Regions from separate parts of the Homo sapiens genome. Here region 2 is linked to region 1. The links are contacts of gene promoters, found by promoter capture Hi-C in blood cells and fetal thymus (Javierre and others, 2016). All regions are on one chromosome and are shown on one strand. The core of a region is centred on a gene start or on the middle of the fragment in contact, and the rest is flanking DNA. Distances in the headings are between cores, read along the strand shown.

What was found. The method cuts DNA at HindIII sites, captures the fragments that hold promoters and counts their contacts. A CHiCAGO score of 5 or more calls a contact.
Region 2: a contact is called between a fragment that was not itself captured here and the fragment with the promoter of CALB2 in region 1, in 2 of 17 cell types (M0 macrophages and M1 macrophages). The highest score is 6.8, in M0 macrophages.

Annotation. Positions count from the first base shown.
Region 1 is chr16:71,355,565-71,363,034 of GRCh38, forward strand. CALB2 (calbindin 2) reads left to right here and starts at 3,159. Exons shown (of 11, transcript NM_001740.5): 1 at 3,159-3,322. The coding sequence starts at 3,229. RefSeq lists enhancers at 2,890-3,855, 4,882-5,176 and a silencer at 2,958-3,187. The HindIII fragment of the contact is 14,542 bases long and covers 1-7,045 here.
Region 2 is chr16:70,705,679-70,713,148 of GRCh38, forward strand. The region is part of intron 14 of VAC14 (VAC14 component of PIKFYVE complex); the gene reads right to left. Among named protein-coding and RNA genes, the nearest start is that of MTSS2, 23 kb to the left of the region's middle. RefSeq lists an enhancer at 1-315. The HindIII fragment of the contact is 1,810 bases long and covers 3,738-5,547 here.

The DNA of each region.
Region 1 (7,470 bases), core at 1,909-4,408:
CCAACTCCATATGTGGCCCAAACTCCAGAACACTGCTCACCCCAGCCCACTCTGGAGCCAGGTGACATCTCCAGTTCCTCCTTGCTGCTGAAATCCCCCACAACCTGAAGGGGATTTCTGGGGGTTCCTCCAACAAAACTTGACTTCAGGACAGCCACAAATGCTGCACTCCCAGAAGGCCAATGCTCCTCTCTCCCGCACCCAGACATCTCCCCTGATAATCCCTGGCCTTGGTGGGTGGTGGCGGGCAGGCTGAGCAAGCCAGGAAGACACGAGGCATCTGATTGCTGTGATTCCAGATGTGGCCTAACTGCCACTATTTCAGAACAACAAGAAAAATCCCTCCTCACATCCTTGCATTGGTAAGAATACCTGCCTATTAATTAAGCACTTACGGCTGCTGGGGTTCTTGCTAGCTAACCCCTTGATTACATTCTTTTTGGTGCTTCCACTGACTTTGTGAAACTAATTACCTTGATTTTTAGAAAGGTTCAAAGAGGTTAAATAGCTTTGCCCAAGGCCTCACAACCAGCAAGAGGGTTTTGAGCCCATATCTATCTGACTCCAGGGCAGGAACTTGTAACTGCTCAATGTGGCTGTTTCTGCAGGACTCAACTTGGAGATAAACCACAAACGCACCAGCTTGGGCTCCTCAGTCCTCCAGGAATGGGCCTCCCAGAAACAGACCAACTGTGCATCTGAAATGAACGAGGCAAGACTGTCCCAGTAGACAGTTTAAAGGTCACTGTGGCCACCCTACTGTCATACCCAGAACCATGTCCCCCTGATCTCAACAGCTCTGGAAAGCAGGAAGTAGGAGCTTCACTCTTTACTCCTCACCAGGAAAACCAAAGTAGCATGGAGACACTGGCTTTGCTTCTTGGAGAAGCAGGGATGAGCTCTCTCACCCAACACAGATTTGGGACAGGGGCCTGAATGACAGGTGTCAGAGCCCACAGGGCTGAGCCTGGCCCCGTGGGGGGCTGTGCAGCGCAGTGGTTAAGAACTTGTGTTCTGGAGACAGTATCTGTCTTAGCCTTTCCCGTTGGCCTCCCGTTGGGGTCAGCCCCTCCAGGATCCATTCATTAGCTACCCCAGGGGAGGTGATGCTGACTGAGAAATTTCTTGCCAAGCCAACCACTGATCACTGGCTCCATGAAGGGCGGCAGGAGCCCTAACTCATTTAATCCTCAGAACAATTATATTATTATTATTATTACTATTATTAGAGACAGAGTCTCGCTCTGTCGCCCAGGCTGGGGTGCAGTGGTGCGATCTTGGCTCACTGCAACCTTTCCGCCTCCCGGGTTCAAGCGATTCTCCTGCCTCAGCCTCCCAAGTAGCTGGGATTACAAGCATGCACCGCCACGCCTGGCTAATTTTTTTTTTTTTTTTTTTTTTTTTTTTTTTAGTAGAGACTGGGTTTCACCATGTTGGCCAGGATGATCTCAATCTCTTAACCTCGTGATCTGCCCACCTCGGCCTCCCAAAGTGCTAGGATTACAGGCATGAGCCACGGCACCCAGCCAACAATTCTAAAAGGCGTATGCCCACATGCCCATTTTGCAGAAGAGAAAAACTGAGGCAGAGACAGGTTATATAATTTGCTCAAGGTCACACAGCTTATTCTGGGATTCACACCCAAGCAGCCTGATTCTTGAGTGCCTACTCTTAACCACTGAGTCATCCTGCCTCCCTAGGGACTTTGGTGAATCTCTCAGCAAGGTGGATGGGTACCTCTAAAGCTAGCTTTTGATGACTTCTCCCCCCAGTCTGTTCCTGCAAGTAACTCTAAACACATTCACCCTAGGCAAAGAACAAGTGGTTTTGGAACCTGCATTCTCTATTGCCCCTTTGAGACTCGCTCTGGGCTTGGCCCTCTCTCCAAGGGACAACCCTCTCTCTGTCTCCTCCTGGGTTCCCCTCTCCCCCAGCGACCTCCTTTTCATTCTCACTTACCTCCTTGCCTTTCACTCTCCTCTTGGAAGGTGGTTCAGCTAACACTCATTAGCACATGTTAAAGATCGCCAATTCATGTCTCAGTCACTCCGTAGCAGGAGAGGGGAGAAAGGAGGGATGATGCTGTCACTCTGTGGGTAATGTGTCTTACCTTACCACACCACAAGGCCAGGACAGACCCCTAAGGGCTCAGACCGCAGGAGAGAATGGGGAGAGGGCCCAGCTCCCTGCTGGGGAGTCCTGTCTGCTGCCCTCAGGATGTGCGCTCAGTAGCTGCGTCTATTTTCTCTGAGACCAGCTCAGAACATCCCCAAGACAGAGTTGGACGTTGTTCTCTGTCCACTGGAGCAGGCACATTCCCACGATGTCCCTAGGTGGGCGTGGTTAAGACCTGGTACGGGTTGATCTAGTTCTGCCACCCCCTGGCCAAATGTCTAAAAGCCCCCCAGAGCATGGCCAGCGTGAGGCAGGTACCAGGGGTGGAGGGAGGCTCCGAGGGGACGGATATACGAAGACCCAAACAGACAGTGGAAGCCCCCCACCCCCACCCCACACCACTTCCATCGGAATCCTCCCGGGGCACTGCTGATTCCAGCTGCTCCCCACTAAAGCCTTGAGAACTCTTGGCTGCTCTGCAAGACTGAGCCCCATGAAGGAGCCACGTGCGGCGTGGAAAGAGTGCTGAGTTCAAATTGTAGCCCTGCCACTAATTTGCTGGGCCAGTCACTTAATCATCTGAAGTCACAAGTACCTCATCAGAAAAGTGGTCCCAGCTCTTCCTGCTGTGGAAGGATCAGAAGAGAGGAGGCACGACAGAGACCTAGTGAACTCCGAAGCCCGAGTGCTAAATATTTGTCAAGTTTGTGTTAGTATTACTATTAGTGTTGTTACTGCTGTTATTATTATTGCTACTGCCAGCAATAATAAGTGGTGGATGTACTCAAGACGGTCGGGAGGGAAGGCAAGGGCAGCCTCTCCCTCATTTTCACCGAAAATCCTCCGGGTGTCCCTGGCCCCGCGCCGAGGGGTCTCAGCGCAGAGGTAAGGGCCCTCTAGGAGTCCGGGCCGAGCCTCTCGCGCCGCCGCCCCCGCCGCGCCGCGCCCCGGTCGGATTCCCTGAGCGCGCGCGCCCCCTTCTGGCGGCCGGGCGCAGGCGCAGGCTCCAGAGCGTATATAAGGGCAGCGTGGCGCACAACCCCAGCGCGAGTGCCAGAGCCCAGCCGGCGCGGAGCGGGAGCGGTGCAGGCTGAGGTCTCCGAGCGGCTCGCCATGGCTGGCCCGCAGCAGCAGCCCCCTTACCTGCACCTGGCCGAGCTGACGGCGTCCCAGTTCCTGGAAATATGGAAGCACTTTGACGCAGACGGTCAGTAAAGCTCCCAACTTCTGTGCCCATTGGCACCCAGGGGACCTGCGGTGAAGGGGGCAGGGGGCGGCGCTGAATGCGGGCAGGTGTACGTTTGCCCTCAGGAGGTGGTCTGGTCGCAGAGCCTGCTGGGGTAGTGGTCCCGGGTTTGGGAGACATCCGGCTGCTCTGGGCACAACTGTCAGTAACTTTCTTCCCTAACATAGATGACCCAGAGCCCACCCGCATTTGCACCTTTATTCTGAGCAAGTGGGAGCTTTCTCAGAGAGGTGGCCTGGGCTGGGAAGGCCTCCAGGTTCCCCCTGCCATCTCCCCCACCTCCCCTGCCTTCAGCTGCTCCAGCCACAGGTCTCAGAAGACCACTCATTTCTTTCCTCCTCTTCCCCTTTTGTTGAATGCTAGGTTAGCCCCCTTACCCTGCTGGAGGCTGGGATAAATTAGGGGATCCTGAAGGGAAACGTGGCCTCCCCAGCTTGATTGGCTGGGAGCAGGAGTGGAAAATGGCATTGGGGGCCCTGAACACCCCCCTGCTTCCTTTGTCCATTTTCCAGCCGCCGTGGGCATGTAGGTTTCCCAATACAGCAGCAGTGGGTGTGGTGGCGGGCAGCGTTGGGGTGCCAGTCCCAGACCTGTTCCCTCATAGTGATAATCCTGGGTACTCTTGGTGACTTCATCTCTGGGTAGGGGGAGGCACCACCCTAAGTGCCTCAGTGACTAACCCTCTGCTCTGTGTGGTCTTGACACTGACTCACCCAAAAAGCAAGGGCCAGACCAAATGACCTTTGGAGGTAGCCCCCAGCACTGGGATTCCAAGTGTCTGTGGTGGTCTGACTCAGGCATAAAGGGTGGTCCTCCTTTAGAGGCTTTTGATATCACTAGAGACTCTGTTTCTGTTACTCCGAAAAAATAAGTGATCTGATTTCCCTCTCTACGCACAGACCTGGCTAAGATGAGCATCCAAAATATCCTGGCATCTCAGACATTTTGTGGTGTCTGTAGCTACCCTCCCCTCGGGTAGCTAATGGCTCCTGGAGGGGCTGACCCCAAAGGGAGGCCAACGGGAAAGGCTAAGACAGATGCTGTCTCCAGAAGACAAGTTCTTAACCACTGCACTGCACAGCCCCCCAGGGGGCCAGGCTCAGCCTTGTGGGCTCTGACACCTGTCATTCAGGCCCCTGTCCCAGATCTGTGTGGGATGACAGGGAGTTTATCCTGGGGTCTGAGAGCAAGGGGGATGGAAAACAGAGGGGCATCAGGTGTGCCTCACTCCATTCTTCCCTCCTCCCTTCCTCGCCTTGGCAGGGTGTGGAGGTGGCTGGGCAGAGATCCTCTGCCCAGAGTGCTATGGGGAGGCAGGGGTTAATGTCTGGGGATGCTAATGGGTGAAATTTTGTTTCCTTGGAGCCAACTGAGAAAGCTAGAGGGGTAGGGGACTAGGCATTTGAATACCTGAGTTAGGACTGTGATCTGCCTATGAATTACTGATGGAAGTGGGTAGATTGTTAAATCTGTAAAATGGGGCTAAGGAGGGATTGTGTTTCCAATCCCCAGCTCCTGCCATAAAATTCCCTTGGTACAAAGTGCTCTCCTAAGAGAAGTGCAGCCTTTTAGTATTCCAGATGACATGCACATTCCCTAAGGAGGCTCCTGCCAGTTTATCTGCACCAGACTTGCATGATTCAAGGAAAGTTACCAAGCAGCCAAGGTTACACCACTGGCTTCCTGGTAGATGAGTCAGCTATAAACAGAGGACTCTATAGTTCTACTTTCCCCCATTCTCAGAGGGACAAGCAAGAGCACTGTCCATAACCACGCAGATCCTTACGTTGATCTGAGACATTGTACTTAAGCACAATTGCACCTTCTCAAGGTGTGAGGCTGCTGGGCAGACCATGACTCCCCTTATACAGATGAGGAAACAGACACAGGGGTTGACTTTTCCGAGGTCATGGAGCAAGTTACTGGTGGGGCTGGTTCCTGGCCAGCGTTTATTCTCCCACTCTGGTTCCTGAACACCTGCTTGGTTTGGAAGAGGGTTTTTTTCCATGATGATAGGTATAAGTCTCCCTCCCATTCCCCCAAAGAAAAGCCCCCAGCCCACCCTTGGGGTTGATGGGCAGTTTCGTGTATCCCAAAATGGGGTCCTTGGCTTGGCTAGAGTGTAGTTAAGCTACCACCAAACCCATGATCTTCAAAGCCTCCTAAAGCCATTGTGCCTCTGGCTCCCTCCTGCTCCGGGGTGAAGGGGGAGCTTGATGCTTGCACCTTCTTCCTTGTCCATCAGACTTCCACTGCCATCTCTACATCACAGCCTCAGGGAAGTCCCAAGGAAAGGCCATGGACCCGACAGAGAAGGAGGGCCATGAGGATTAAAATACCAGAGATGAGAGAGAGGTGACTTAGGAAGATATGTATACAGCCAAATCGGAATTCCACAAAAGGATCCAGAATTAGGCTTTGGGCGACCTTCCTCCCCTCCTGAACACCCAAAGGCTGCCAGGTGAGCCCAACACCGCAGTGCCTGAGGCACTCCCAGCCCTGTTTAGGCCTCTCTCCTACCAATTCTGGTTTCCGTTTTCAACATGGGGTTTCTTCCCAATTCTAAGAGTACCCCCTACCACTCACAATCTTAAAAACACCTGAGAGAACTCTCCCTTGCAGCTCTCCAGGTCCCTGGAGTGGGCTCGCTGGAGCCCAATTAACCACAGCCCCCAGAGAGTTGGAGCCACCTCCCCACCCCTTCTGGATGCTGGCTGGTAGTAAACAAAGACAAAGAGACCTTAGGAGGCAGCTGAATCCCAACGAGAGGGAGGATGGGGGCAGGAGGACCCTTAGCCCATTCCAAAACAGAAAAAGCCACCATCACCCTAAAGAGTTGGATTATTTTCAAAATTCTTATTAGCTTTGTGGTAGAGAAAGGAAGAAGTGTATGTTTGGAGAGTGAGAAACTAGGACTCAAAGAGGCAAAATTCTTTTCACAAGATCACACAGCAAAGCAGGAAGAGGTGAAGGGGGAACCAGGAATCTGGTCTCCTAGTCCGCAATACCACTCCACCAACTCTGCCTCAGCAGTCAGCCAAGAGCATGCGTTTGGGAGGGTTCCAATGTTGTCTCTCAAAGGCTGAGGTAGGGAAGATGACAGCCAAGCCCACCCAGTGACCCTGGTGGGGTCTAGGGCTCTTCCGAACATCACCTCCATGCTCCGAGTGGCCCTGACGTGGCCTTACGTATCTGAGCCCATTGCTCTGTTGCTTCCTGGACACTTCTGTATCAGGACCTTTCCCCCTCTAAAGGATCCAGGTGGCTGAGGGATGCCCAGTTCAGAGTTCACACTGTCCTTTATTTATGGTTCTGATTAGACAGGCCACCGGGCTCCTATTTTACTGACCATCTGCGAGCAGCAAAGTTGTGGCTCCAAAGAGAAATGCCTTAGCTTTTGCTACCCCTTTGAAAGCAACTAAGAATGTAAAGATAAGATGAGTTCTCTTCCAGGGGCAAGCAGACATTCATGGGGCCAAGGTGAACATCCTACTCCCTTCCAAGAATCTAGCCTACATAGATATACTCGTATGTGCGCAGAAAGTTATATGAACAAACATGTCTATTACAGTGTTCTTCGGAAATACTAACAATTTCAGTGGGTGGAGGGGAGAATGTGCTTCACTGGGGGACAGAAAAATAAATATGGTCATCCCTATGATGGAGTATGATAGAGCGAAGTGAAGCTTTTGTAGTGACATGGAAAAATGTCCAAGATGTATTATTAAGATATTGTTTAAAACTGTAGCTGAACACTATTATAAGCCCGTTTTTATTATGAATGATATATGTATGTTGCAGGATATTTAGAAAAATACAACTGAATAATAGCGGCTCTCTCTGAAGAGTGGATGAGCCAAATGAAAGGGGATTTTCTTTTACTTTCTAAGTTAATTTCCATAGCACTTGAAAATTTTACAAGAGCATCTATTTCCTGTGTAGTCAGCAAAACAATAAAGATATAAGAAGGGAGGCCAGGCACAGTGGCTCAGGCCTATAATCCCAGCACCTTGGGAGGCCAAGGCAGGAAGATCACTTGAAGCCAGGAGTTCGAGACCAGCTTGGGCAATACAGTGAGACCCCCCCTCCCCCTACTACAAATTTAAAAA
Region 2 (7,470 bases), core at 3,393-5,892, 650 kb before region 1:
CAGCTGCTCTCTCTACTCCAGCCCTCACTGGCCCCGCAACGCTGCCCTCCCCATGATGAACAGAGGACTCAGAAGAAGCCTCAGCTGGCAAGTTCCAGGAGGGGTGGGTGTACCCCACCTCCTCAGTTTTCCCCTATGCTCCACCTTGTCCACTCTCGCGTGCCATCGATGGGACATCCTTCCCAGTGGAGCCTTGTTGGTGGCCCCATGAGAGGCAAGAGTGTGGGTGATTTTGCTCGGTACCTCCTGTTAGACTAGTTCACACAAGTGGCCTCACTGGATACAGATACAGGAAGGTCTCCTCCTACTGCCCAACCACCCCAAGAACCCTATCGGGTTCTTCATGCCTCTGCTTCTCCAGTCTGGCACCAGGACCCTCTGGTGGTGCTCATTTCCCACCCCAGCAGGTCCAATTCTCTAGCCCCACTGGCCTGGTGGGGACCCTGCCTGCAAGCCCAGCTCTTTGGTCAGAGGGTGTCATGGGGCATGGGGTCAGCGATCGCTGTGCTCCCTGGCAGGCTGTTGGCAGCTGTGGATGGGGATGGGGTTCTTACATGGGTGACTGGGCAGGTAGTCCTGGCTCCAGGTCCCTCAGAGGCTGGGCTGGATGCTGATTCTGAGGACAGTGTGGGCTGGGTGGACTCCACCGGTCTCTCTGCAAGTCGCCTTAGGACTGGGCAAACCAGCAGGAGGGCAACAGGCTTCAGGTGCCTGCTGAGGGCAGGGCATCCTGGCTCAGAGGCCCCTCCCTTCTCCCTATGGCCAGGCCTCCTTCCTTCATTTCCATCCCCAGCTGCCTGTGGCTCACTGACCATGCACAGAGGGGCGAGCCCTTGTTTATTTTCTTTTTTGAGACGGAATCTTGCTCTGTCACCCAGGCTGGAGTGCCATGGTGCGATCTTAGCTCACTGCAACCTCTGCCTCCCGGGTTCAAGCGATTCTCTTGCCTTGGTGGCTGGGATTACAGGCATGTGCCACGATACTAGGCACATTTTTCTATTTTTAGTAGCGACATGTTGACCAGGCTGGTCTTGAACTCCTGACCTCAAGTGATCCACCCGCCTCGGCCTCCCTAAGTGCTGGGATTACAGGTGTGAACCACCACGCCTGGATAGCCCTTGTTTCCTTTCTACATTGGATGCTGGATGGTGCCCACATCCATCCCCTTCAGTGGTCCAAGGCCAATGGACCCCAGTACTTTCCTAGGAGACACCTGGAGTCTCACGGCCAATAAATCTGAGGTGCAACCTAATATCAAGGCTACAAACTACAGAGAAGGCCTGGACCGCTCCCACCGGAAAAGGGCCTCCTCCCTGCCTTGTTCCTGCCCCACAGCTGGGATCCTTTAGGAATTTAAAGAGAAAGCAGCTTTTGGGTCAGTATAACCTTAGGATAGGGAGAGGAGGGAGTAGCCTCCCATCTCTAGTCCAGAACGCTCCAGAATCTCACTGCATCCTGCCCCTCCCCCTCTGCTCTCTTCCCTTCCAACTCTCTGCTTCCAAGTATGAAAACTGTAAATCTGTTTTATTTATTTCAATCAATCCTCGGCAGTGTGCCCCTCAGGGCAAAGGCAGCCATGGTAACCCTGCCAACTCATGCCTTAAAAATTCATCGTTGTTTAATGCAGTCGATGTGTCTGGTACACTTAAAAGTTTCTTGCAGGGAGTGGGGTGGGAGGAGGAGGAGGATGCGGAACTTGTTTTTCTGGGCTTTGTAGGGAGCTGGTGGAAAGGGGATGGAGGGAGGAGGGGCACAGGAAGAGGCCTTCAGTCCTCTTAGCCATCTGTCCCTCTGTGCAAGAGGAGGTGCCATCGGGCTCTGGGAGGTCCCAGACACCTGTGCTGGGCTCATCTAGAGACCTCCATAGAAGGTCTCATCTGGGTGGGAGCTGCCACAGAAAACGAAACAGTCTCACAGAGGCAGCTGAAGCCTCAGCCCCCCAGGATTAGCAGGTCCCTCACCCTAAGTTTGGGGCTTGCTCTAGAGAGCAAGTTGACTCCCGCTTTCTGAACTGCCCAGGGTGGAGTCAGATGACCCTTGCTGCCACGGGAGGGGCTCTGCCTTCTCCTCAGAATGGAAGTCATCTTCTACCTTGGCCCATCGGGCTGGCTTGGCCTTTTTTCTTTTTTTTTTTTTCAAGATGGAGTCTCGCTCTGTCATCCAGTGCAGTGGTGTGATCTTGGCTCGCTGCAACCTCTGCCTCCTGGGTTCAAGTGATTCTCCTGCCTCAGCCTCCTGAGTAGCTGGGATTACAGGCGCCCGTCACCACACCTGGCTAATTTTTGTATTTTTAGTAGAGACTGGGTTTCACCATGTTGGCCAGGCTGGTCTTGAACTCCTGACCTCAGGTGATCTGCCGCTTTGGCCTTCCAAAGTGCTGGGATGACAGGCGTGAGCCACCGCACCTGCCTTGGCCTTATTTTCCATGTGTCTTTTCAGTCTGACCACCCCGTCCCCTGTGTCCATTCACAGGTACTCAAGCCCCCTGTTCTTTCCCAGGACAGCCCTCCCCTGTCTCCTGCCTCACCTGCTGCTAGTTCCCACCAATTTCCTTCCTAAGGTGGTACTTGGCCCCTGGGCCCTCCCTGAGCCCTGGTTCCTTTTCAGCTTACACCACAAGGCCTAGGGCTGGGCCCCTACAGGCAATGGGGGAGATGAATGCTTGTAGGACAGAAAATTAACTTCCAGGAAGGGACAAGGTGGCCTGGGTTACTTTGGCCGTGGGGCTGGGCATGCACATGGAACTGCAGGCCAAGGGGCTTCAGAGTCAGGTGGGTTCTGAACTGTGTTATCAGGGTTCTTGGCGGGTGTCTGGCTCTGGCGGAAGCATTTCGCATTCTGCAAGGAGTCCCTGTGAGGGAACTCAGCAGGTGTTTGACTCACAATGAGGTCTGCGTTTGTGTCTTAGAAAAGAGGCTGCGCCTTCTATCCCACATAGACACACCCCAGAATACGGCTGGATGCAGGTCAGATGGCGAGGGCTGGGGACAGGCGTGTAACCCTGTGCTGGAGGCTCTGAAGCTGAGATAGCAGGAAGGACCGATGGGGTATCTGCTGAGATAGTGTCTTGGTGTTGGAGAAAAACGCAGTGTGAGGAGGGCAAGGCCGGGGTGAGGAGACAGCTGGGTGCGGGGAGGAGGGGCAAGAGTGCGGCCGGTCTGGCCCCTGCCTGGAGACCATTGTCCCCCGGCCATGAAGCCTTGGCACGGCCGCAGGGACCTTCTTGCATGCTGAATCCTCAGTGCAAATGAAAACAAAGGGACTGGTCACTAAAGGAAATCCTGTTGTCTCCATGATAATCAACTCCAAGAAGTGCTGAGAAGTGCCCAAGCCCTTGGGTCCCTGCTGGGCTCCTGCCCTCTCTTGCCACAGGGATTTCCTCCAAGCTGGAATCACCATTTCCTTCCTAATCCTGGCCACAAATGACAGTACATTAGGAACATCGTGTACATTCAACTCCTCAGCATGGGCCACTTGTGATTTCAGCCCAGAGCCCTTTCTAGCAGAGAATGCCATGTGCGGCACAGATGAGAGGCCTTGCCAAAGACCCCCTTGGTCAGCCTAACCCCAGCACCAAGTACTCACTGCTGCCCACCCACCCCTTTGTCCCCCAACAAGCTCCAGGGCCTACACAGCACAGAGCCTTAGACACACTTTTCCGGGAAGACAGTTTGGACCTCCTGAGCTGCAGAGATCACTGGGGCCTTCTGGTGTGGACTGGAGCGAGTTTCTCCAGAAGCTTCCTGTGGCTCCGGGGCAGCATATCTGTAGCCAGCTCCTTTTACCCCACTCTCCCGCTGGAGCCACCTCTGTGGGTGGATGGCACTGACCACACCTGGCTGGGATGGTGTTGGCCTGTGATCCACACTTAGTTCTACCCTCCTAGGGCAATGGTTTGTCTCCAAGGGTACGAGAGGGAAGCAGGGCCTTGAAACTGCAGCCATAGTTCTGTAGCCTGGACCCAAACTCTGACCCAGCGGAGAAAGTCCACGGGGCTGACTCCAACAGCAGGTTCCCGGAAACCAGTTGGGAGCAGCAGCTCCTGAGTATGGGAGTCAGGCCAGCTACTGCCTGAGGTCCAGGCTGGGGAGATTTTAATATAAAGATTCCTGGTGCCCAGGGAGACATGGCCAAGGCTGGTGCTCTGAACTGGCTGATACATTCCCTGGCTGACACTGCCAGGGAAATGGCCAGGGAAATGGCATCCCTGAACCCTACCTGCCCTGGGGCCTCCTGGGCTCTGCTGGAGAACTGCAGCTGTAACCTTTCTCTCCCTTTGAAGCCCTCTGGGCTTGAACCCTCTAAGCAGGATTTCCTCCTGAGGATGTGCTCAGCTGCCCCCGTGGAGGCCAGCCCTGCCCACGAGGAGGCCGCCACCGCCTGGCACGCTGCTTCCTGGCCCTGCCTGCCCTTGCACGCCCCTGCCACCCGCATGGGACAGGAAGGAACTGAAGCCAAGGACTGGTCCCAGGCCACACAGCCAGGGCCACAGAGGGGCCAGAACTTGGGTTTCTGACCTGGCACTCATGTTCCCATGAACATGTTCCCATGCTCTGTGGCATCTGCAAGGGACACAGACCTCCCTTCCCTGGCTGGCTCCCCTTCCCACCCATTCCCTGCAGCTTGTATGCCCAGGGCAGAGACACCCCTTCACCCTGTGGCATGTGACCTCACACAGGGTCCTCGGAGATTGAGTCTGTCTTGGGACGGGTAATGGAAAGGCATCCCTGCATCTCTGCCATTTTCCCCTGCAAACCGCAGGGGGACTTGTGAGGAATGAGGCGGGTGAGGGACAGCAGTGCTGGGACCCGAGTAAGGTGGCCAGAGCTACTCCGGCCCCAACAATGTCTGGCGACGCCCCTTGCCCGTGTTCTGATCACCAAGCTGTTTGTTTTCCTTTACTTCAGGCGACGATTCCCAAACTAGTCCCTTTGTTCCAGGCCAGGGAGCACTCCAGCTGCTGCGTATTCCACAGTTTACAGATGGTGAGCCTCCCCTTCTGCCTCGTCGGTGCTGGACCAAGACACGGAGGCCTCGGCAGGGCCCACACTCGGCCCCTCTGGCCTTGAAGCCACGGACCCAACTTGGGTCCAGCAGCCCCAGTGTTCATATGGCCATAGCCCCGTGTCAACATTTCCCTCCCCCAAATTATTTAACCAGATGGGCTGTCCTCCTGGTCATGGGCCCTGGGTGATTACAGTGATTCACTAGTCTCTCGTGTTCCCGTGGCAACTTTCCTTCAAAGGACCTCCTGCGCTCTGAAGGAGTTCCGGCCAGGGGCTGCCATTCTGGTTTCTGGGGGCACCTCGAGTGCTCTGCCCTGGGCGCCATGCGCATGGCTTCAGCTCCACGTCCCTCAGCGGGGAGCCGCCAGCCCCTGTCCCATCAGTGTCCTCATCCACCCAGAAGGCTGCGCATTTACCCTCTAGAACAAAGAGGGTCCCTCAAGCCAGGAATACCCTAACTGAGGAACCCCAGAGCCTGGCTGTATGCATGGACCACGTGCGGGCCTCACCTCCAGGAGGTCCACGATCTGTACTCTCAACAAGCTTCCGGGGCGGCCAGAGACCTGCTGCCTGCAACTGCCTCACCAGGCCTGATCGCTTCAGGCATGGCCATGCCCTCCTGAGGGAAGGAGGAGACTCTGGCAGGAGTCTGAGAGGATGGGTGGCAGCAGGGCCTGGCTCGGCCTTGGAGCTCTAGGCGGAAGGCCCTGACACTTGCCTTCTTGAGGCCCCACCCCCACCTGTGCAGAGTCTGGGTCCTGGTTTACGTTTCTGCTTGGCATTTCACTGTTTCCCTGCTGGTCTCTACCTTCACGGTCCCGAGCCTGCTGTGCACAGCCCTGGCCTCCTCTGTTCAAACAGAAAGATAAAGAGGTCAGCTCTTGGGCAAGACCTGTGCTTGGACTCTCCCTGGCCTCCTGACAGCCATGTGGCCTGGCCCACCTGCATAGCCCCAGCACCCCAAGAGGAAGCACAGCTCACAGCTGCTGCCCTGGGCACGGGCCATTCCTGCCTTTCTGGCTGTGATTAGGAGCTAGAGCCATGAGTGCCTTTCTTGTCTTCACATCTTTAGTCCAGGGGTTTTGTGAAATTTTATGAACTGAGATGGCTTTCTCTAGGCTTTATAAGTGCCCACTTAAAGAGCACTGAGATAAGTGTCAGGAAACAGGACGAGAAGTTAAACATGAATACTCACCAGTGGTAACAAAGAGCAAATATCAGAGCAGCCTCACGGCGGCCTCTGAGAGGCCGGTAAAAAGATCAGAGTCTCAAAGGACTGGGAGGATGGAGGTGCCACAGCCGTAGTGGTGGGCCACAGCATGGCTGGGAGGGGGCTCCTTCAGTTATTCTCGGCCAAATGGAAGGGGAGGGGTTCTCCTATTTGTACCCTCCCCCACCCCCTCCCGGGAGGCTGAAAAAATTCCTTTTGTGATCAGCCATTTTCAGAGAATTTTAAGACGGATGAAATAGGCTTTTCATCCACATGTTCCCTGCCAGCCCAGGAAATCTTCCCTGGATTAAACGCGTGAGAAATAAGAGGGCCCCAGACATGAGGCGTCCTTGGAAGTCACCCGAGGGGACATGTCTTAGTCCTAGCTCTGGGTTACAGGCGAGGCGCCCTATAGCAGAACTTGCGCTGGTGGGCAAGAGGCCTGCTCCCTCCACTCCCCACCAGGATCACGCCACTGCCCCTCTGAGCAAAGACACGAGGTAACCACCGACAGAGAAAGGCGGGTGGACAGATTTAATACTGGGATATGGCAGCCTCCGTGGGGAGGGACAGTGACCCTGAGCCATTGGGCTCAGGCTGGGAGCGTAGAGGCAGTGTCTAGCCGGGCTCAGGATCCGGAGGGAGATGTGTTCTGCACAAAGACAGTGAAGGCGGTGGACCTGGGCAAGCTGCAGAGCTCTCCGAGTCCAGAGACCACTGCTGCCAAACCAGCACCAGACCGAGCCTCATGCTGATAAATGCACAGAAAGGGCTGCAGAAGGAAACACACCAAGCTGAGACCCAGAGGCTACTTCTGAGGGAGGAGGTGGCAGGTGGTCAGGGGTCTTTCCCATTTACTGCTATACCATTCTGCATTATTTCAGTTTTTATTGTATGTGGTTTAATATTTCTAAACAGAAAATAAAGTATTGAGAATCCTCTGTGTGCTTCTCTTGGACTCCTTCTTGGAGAGGCTTGGCGACGGAGCCCACGGGCAGGGCTGGGGAAGGTGCTACCTCCCCAGGGCATGGGTGCTCCAGCCTGGCCACGATAGTGGAGCTTTCCTCTCTAGAGGGGCTGCTGCAGGTTTAACAATGGAAACATGCATTTTACAAATGAGAGGATCAACAGCCAGGAAAAGGTATTTTTAGCTACGGTGGCTCTTTGCTTCAAAGGCGTATGTTTCATCTAAAACCAGGCAAACCTCCTACAAAGTCTGCCTGCTTGCAAGGAGTGATTAGCATAATACAAGCA